Regions from separate parts of the Homo sapiens genome. Here region 2 is linked to region 1. Evidence: promoter capture Hi-C in human tissues and cell types (Jung and others, 2019). All regions are on one chromosome and are shown on one strand. The core of a region is centred on a gene start or on the middle of the fragment in contact, and the rest is flanking DNA. Distances in the headings are between cores, read along the strand shown.

Evidence for each region. The method cuts DNA at HindIII sites, captures the fragments that hold promoters and counts their contacts. A contact is called where the count stands out against the background at its distance.
Region 2: a fragment that was not itself captured here is called in contact with the fragment with the promoter of ZBTB26 in region 1 in 3 of the 25 tissues and cell types used here (aorta, bladder and mesenchymal stem cells).

The regions. Positions count from the first base shown.
Region 1 is chr9:122,929,870-122,933,360 of GRCh38, forward strand. ZBTB26 (zinc finger and BTB domain containing 26) reads right to left here and starts at 1,643. Exons shown (of 2, transcript NM_020924.4): 1 at 1,568-1,643. It also overlaps a transcript of RABGAP1 not described here. RefSeq lists a silencer at 1,415-1,754. The HindIII fragment of the contact is 7,569 bases long and covers 1-3,491 here.
Region 2 is chr9:123,041,490-123,044,980 of GRCh38, forward strand. The region is part of intron 13 of RABGAP1 (RAB GTPase activating protein 1); the gene reads left to right. It also overlaps a transcript of GPR21 not described here. Among named protein-coding and RNA genes, the nearest start is that of GPR21, 9.6 kb to the left of the region's middle. The HindIII fragment of the contact is 4,214 bases long and covers 1-3,491 here.

The DNA.
Region 1 (3,491 bases), core at 393-2,892:
CAGTGGTCTCTCCTCGAAATTCCCTTCTCTTGATTTCTGGGTCTTCTTGCTTGCTGTAACCCTGCACTCCTACACTTTATTGCCTACTGCTGACTACTACTAGCTCCAATTCCTCTTTCTGCTTCATAAATGCAAGCATTACCCTCCCCCCCCAAATTTCCTTATTTTTCAAAATTCTCTTCCTGATGCCAGCTATTGCCATGGTTTCCACTTCTATGCTGATAACTCAAACTTTTACCTCTAGCTACAATGTTTAGGCTGAGCTAAAGATTTGCATTTCCAACTCCATGCTGGACAGCTCTATGTGTCTGTCTCATTAGACCTTTAATTCAACATGTCCAAAAAATGAATTCATAATCTACACTAAGCTTATGGCTTTATTTCTGATAATGGCATTACCATCCTTCAGCTCAGAGGTCTAAAACCTAAGAATTAGATTTGGTCCCTCACACTTCTTCAGCATTCAGTTAATTATGGAGTCTTGACATAATCATCTCCAGTATATTTGTCTCCTTACCAATGACACCATTATAACTTATTTCAGGAATTTTTTGCCTCTCACTAGGCTGATCCCATTACCCCTTCAAAAGAATCTCCGATAAGCGTTCCTAACTTTTAGCTAAATGTCTAAATGCAGTTAATAGAAAGTCCCTTCTCTATGGGCTTTCTACAGAACAAAATGATTTCCTGCAGTGCAAATCTGACCATATCAATATTCTGTTCCGAACTCTTCAAAAAACTACCCATCTCCTTTAGGATTACACCATTCACCATCTGGACCTCGGTCGACTTTCCCAGTCTCATATCCATTCTGTGCATAGGAGTCCCCCCATTTCCTCCTCTTCCCACACAAGTTATGCTCAGTCATTTCTCCACAGTATTGCAACTGTCTTCCCTGAAAAACTCTTCAACACTTTACTCTCTCCAAGTACAATTCAGACATCACTTTCTTTCTAAAGCCTTCTCAGCAACGGCCCCTTGAGCAATTAACACATATGTGACTGATACATACATACATATATATACACATAGGAGTACTTATTTGTTCAGATCTGGCTCCCAAACTTAATCCCGAAAACTGGAACAATATCTTGCCAATCTCCAGTGTCTGGTATAGCGCCAGTAATATAAAAGGTGCTGCGACCAGTGGCCAAATAGGGGAAAACCCCAGCAAAAGGGTAACCTAGCACTCACAGTGGTTCTCAAAGACTGGCACTGAATGCCTGGTCTTGGGCTGGCTCCCGAGGCTCGTTTTCTTAGGGCCTCACCTCTGGCACTTCTTATAAGATGCCAGAGTCAGGCCCCCAAGCCAACTGCTGGGCCCTCAGCTGGGGTCCTATGAGGCGGTCCCAGGGGCATCCTCAGGCTCCCCACTCCAGTCACAGGGAAGGGAAAGGGGCGGGGCGCAGCGTGGGCCGGGCCAAGGGCTCCTCAAGTCCCCAGGGGCCTAGGCCAGCCTCTCGGCTCCCATCCCAGTGCAGGTCCCGGTTGATCCAGGGCCCCAGGGGGGTTCCATTTTGAGACACCCCGCACCCCAGCCCGCCGCTCCGGCCGTCTCCGCACTTACAGACCCGGGGGAAGGCCGCCGTCAGGATCCGGCACCGCCAGGAGCTCCGGCCCCTCGGGGCTCCGGGAAGGGGGAGGGGCAAGGAACCCGAGCCAAAGGGGGACCCAACGGAACCGGAAGGGCAGCCCTGGCCGGACAAAGACAACTTCCAGGTCCCATGGTCCTCTCCGCCAATCGGAAGGCTCGGAGGACAACAGGGGCCCCGAGAGGGAATTTCTGCGTTGTGGGCGGGGCGCAGACGGAGGGCACCGTACTCTGGGCACTAGCTTCACTGCCTACTACCCCGAGGTGCCTTAGCTCGTAAGCGTCTGTGGCTCAGGCCCTGTGCGCCTCGCAGGGACCCGCTGCTCGGGACCCCCGTCTCAGCGGCTCTTCTGTAGCTGGGCCTAGACGGTCCGCTGCCTCCTTGGGCCTGAAGGGCTCCTCTGCACTTAAACTTTGGTAAGTCTTTTTAGCCTAGGGGTGTAGACTCGTCGCGCGGGAGCCCGAAGAGCAGAAAGCTCTCCCCTCACTTTTGGATGTGTTTTTCAGGGTTCTTGCCTTGGAGTTCTTCCTAGGGCAAACTCTTGCACTCCCATGGCTTCCGTTACCTACTTCATGCTGACCATTCACAACCCAGGCAGCTACATGGACGAGATCTCCAGCTGTCCTGATGTGAAAGTACCTTTTAATGATCTCAAGTTCATCTCATCTCCTATCCAGACCGGAAAACTTGAGGATCCTTCTAGAGTTCTTTTCCTTGCCAATCCAGTTTACTGGTTTTTGACCATTCTTTTCGTTTTTGGTGGTGGTGAGGGGCTTTTTATTGAGGTAAAACATGCGTAATGTTTATTACTTTAATCATTTGTAAGTGTAAAACTTGATGGTCTTGAACTCTGGAGTTAAAGTGATCCACCCTCCTCAGCCTCCCAAAGTGCTGGGATTACATGTGTGAGCCACTGCTCCCAGCCTTTCCCTCTTTTTAATGTAGTTATTTACAACTATACATTTCACTTTGATCACTGTTTTCACTACAGCTCATAAGTTTTTGTATGTTGTGTTATTTTCATTCATTTCTAAGTATTTTCTAATTTCCCTTTTGATTTCTTCTTCTTTTTTTTTCTTTTTTTTGAGATGGAGTTTCGCTCTTGTTGCCCAGGCTGGAGTGCAATGGTGTGATCTCGGCTCACCGCAACCTCCGCCTCCTGGGTTCAAGCGGTTCTCCTGCCTCCGTCTCTAAAGTAGCTGGGATTACAGGCATGCGCCACCACACCGGGCTAATTTGATATTTAGAGATATGGAGACGTGGTTTCTCCGTGTTGGTCAGGCTGGTGTCGAACTCCCGACCTCAGGTGATCCACCCGCCTTGGCCTCCCAAAGTGCTGGGATTACAGGTGTGAGCCACCGTGCCTGACCTTGATTTCTTCTTTGACCCAGTTGTTAAGAGTGTTGTTTAACTTTCAGATATTTGTGACTTTTCCAGTTTTCCTTCTGTTATTAATTTATAACTTCATCTGTGTGGTCCGAGAAGATACTTTGTATGATATCTATCTTGTAAAATATTATGAAACTTGAATTGTGGCATACAGTCTGGTGAATACCTCATGTGCTTTAGAGAAGAATGTGTATTCTGCTCTTGCTGGGTGGAATGTTCTGTATATGTCTTTTAAGTATAGCTGGTTTATTATGATGCTTAGTTCCTCTATTTCCTCACTTATCTTCTATCTGATTCTTCTCCCCGTTACTGAAAATGGGGTATTGTAGTCTCCCACTATTATTGTAGAACTGTTTATTTCTCCTTTTAATTCTGTCCATTTTTGCTTCATGTATTTTGAGAGTCTGTTCCTAGCGAGGTAAATGCCTATAATTTTTATATAATCTTGTTGTAATGAGCCTTTTATTAATATATAATGTCTTTGTCTCTTATAACCTTTTCAAATTTTAA
Region 2 (3,491 bases), core at 272-2,771, 110 kb after region 1:
GTTCTGTACCATTATGTAAGCCTAGGCTTTAGAAACATGACAGACCTCCTGCTAAATGTAGCAGATTGAATATGCATATTTCTGTTAACTCCACTATAAAGAATAGCAAAGGTATAATATGGATAAAAAGAAGGAGAACAGAGATGATGACAGACAGTGATGCCAGCAGAATTTTGGAATATGGAAATTCAGTGGACGAGTAGTAACTGACTCAGCGGAATCAACAGAGCTGCTTTCTAAAGTCAAATGAGGAAGAGGAGCAAAAAGAAACAGCCTGATTTGTCTATTGACCACAGTAACTACTTGGGAATTGGATTGCTAAGATGTCCCTATAAGCATAGAGACTAAAAAACAAGAATTGATAGAAGCTGAAAAACAGAGTAATTGATAGAAAGTTTATATAAGGAATATTTAGACATCATCACCCCTTACTCCTCTTCCCCATCCCACCTGAATCCCCATCCCACCTGAATCCCCATCCCAAGCAGGCAACTGGTTTTCACCATTGCAGCAGAAGGTGGGAGATTTACTCTTTGGAAAAGCTGAACCACTCTAGATGCCAGGCATAGCTGAGAATGGAACTAAAGGTGTGCTTTGTTGCAAACATGACTGCTGTAAGAAAGTCTGTGTGTTAAATAATCAGCCCCCTTACCACACTACACTCTCAGAATGTTCTAAGCAGGATATGAGAGGAGTGTATTCTCGGGGCTGACATTTGAGGGCTCAGAAACAAAATAGCCACATTCCCTGCCTGGTCACTTTAAGGTGATGCCCATCAATCAACACATCCCACCCATGCACACAGAGCTCACAGTTTTTTATTGCTTCACTTTTAATATTAACAGACAGCCAGAGATAATTGCACTTTTGAGAAAAAGTTCTCACATAAAGTACAGAGCCCAAAACAATCAAGCAAATGACAGAAATCAGAAGAAACAGAAAGAATATAGGTTGCTGAAGAAAACAACCAAAAAACCCAACTGTAACTAACATTCTCAGAGAAGATTTTGTATCCATTAAAGCAGGGGAGAACAGAGTGCAGTAAAAATGAATAGGAAGAGAACAAGAAAGAACTCTTGCAATTTAAAGTATAATAATTTTTTTGTTTGTTTCAGTAAGCAGGCTAGAAAATGAAGTAGGTCAGATAGTGAAACAAAAAGGCAGAGAGACAGAAAATAGATGAAAAAGCAAAACAGTCGGAGGTTTAATCAGGGAACCCAATAGCTGACTAACAGAATCTTCAGAAACAGAATAGAGGAAAAGAAAGGAAGAAATTAATAAATATCACAAGAAAATTTTCCAGTGCTGAAAGATACGTGTTTTCATAATGAAAAGGCCCATTTCAGTGTAATAAAAAGATTCACATGATGGCAAATTGTTATAAAATTTCAGAACAATGGGGATAAAAATTCCTAAAAGCTTCTTGAATGGGGTGGGGCATGGATGGTGGAGTCTAAACATACAAAGTATAGGGATTTGAGTAGCAGAGGACTTTTTGCCACAATAAAGCTAGAAGATAATGGGTAATAGCTTCAGAATTTTGAGGAGAAGTGATTTCCAACCCACAATTTTATGCCCAAACTGTCATTCAAGTGTGAGGGTAAACTAAACTCATTTTGAGGTCTGCAAAATCACAAAATATTCACCTGCCTTAACGTACTTTCTCGGGAAGTTACTGAAGGATATGCTTCTCCAGAATGAGGGAGGAAATAAATAAAGAGATACAGAATCCAGGAAACAGGGTCTCTGACACAGGAGGATGGTGAAAACAATTCCCACAGGAAGGAAAGCTCTACGAAAGCAACTATGCAGGAGACCTAGAGAGCAGCCAGTCTAAATAGGAGCAGGAACAAAGAAGGCACTAGGAGGTATGTCTCTAGGAAAATATAGTTGGGATTTTCACCATGGTGAGAAGAATTTAGTTTTGTGAGATTTTTAGGGGAAGAATTGGTGATAGATACATAGAAAACCAAGGAAAAGAAAAAGATAGGCAATTAATAACTTCAGAAAAAAATAGAAAATTGAAGAAAGGAAATAAGATCATGACATACTCTGATTCAGTTATGTGTTGCTGTGTATAGTTTGGTGTTTAGCCAAAAATGATAGCAACACTGTTGACAGGGTGAGGGGAAGGGAAGTGTTTGGGGGGTGAGGGGAAGGAGGGTGGGTGTAACAGAGCTACAGTAGCATCTTCCATAGTGTAAACTCTGAAACTGATGTCTAAAGTGGAAAAACCCAGAAAATAGCAACTTAAGCATTTTATTCAGAAGTATGAATTAAAAACAAACAGCTTTAAAAAAAGGAGAGGTGAAAATGGTTGCCTCTAAGGAATAGGGTATGAAGAGTGAAGGGAATTTCATTGTAAGCTTTGTACTGTTTGACCTTTTCACTTACGTAGGTGTATTATTTTCTTTTTTTTTTTTTTTTTTGAGACGGAGTCTCACTCAGTCACCCAGGCTGGAGTGCAATGGCGCGATCTCGGCTCACTGCAAGCTCCGCCTCCCGGGTTCAGGCCATTCTCCTGCCTCAGCCTCCCGAGTAGCTGGGACTACAGGCGCCCACCACCATGCATGGCTAGTTTTTTTTTGTATTTTTAGTAGAGACGGGGTTTCACCATGTTATCCAGGATGGTCTCGATCTTCTGACCTCGTGATCCGCCCATCTCGGCCTCCCAAAGTGGTAGGATTACAGGCGTGAGCCACCGCGCCCAGCCAGGTGTATTATTTTCTATGAAAAGTGTAGACCACATTTAGGAAAAGAGATGTATTTTAACAGAAGTAAAGGGAAATCGGGAAGGAGGCCCAGGTATAGAACATTACTGAAATAGTAAATGGGGGCATAATAGCACTATTTTACCTATGGTTCTTTACAAAGCCATTTCCTATTAATTGTCTCATTTAATCCCCCTAGAAGTATAGGCAAAGTTAATATTGTCCCTCTTTTCCAATTATGGGAATGGAGTTTTGGGTCTTTAAGACCTTTTTGGTTTCCAGTCTGCTGTATCACTACGCCTCCATAGGTGTCTGTTTGGAACTTTTCAGATTTTGTAATTTTGTTTTTTACCAAGAGAAGACAGAAGGTGCTGGAATGCATCCTTCTTTGACATCGTGGGAAGGAATATAGGAAAACACACGTACGTGTGTGTGTGTGTGTGTGTGTGTGTGTATGTGTATGTATATGAGTATGTGTGCTGGTACATGAGTATAATACAAGACATGGTATTGTGAAATGATGAGAGGAATGCAAAATGCCATGTAGTGTTCAAAGGCAAGGAGGTGCCTGTTAAATAGATTTCCTTAGAAGGCAGTGTGAGAGATGGGCTAGGCTCAGGGTGGAGTAGAATTCCTATAGTCTGATTCCTCTCCTCACCCCAGACCCCCTCCTTGAATGAGATTTCGTAAAGTATCCAGCTGGACAGAATTAAAGGAACCCAAAGGATCAACAGACTAAAGACTGTAATGAAGTGATCTACAATTTAACAAACAATATAT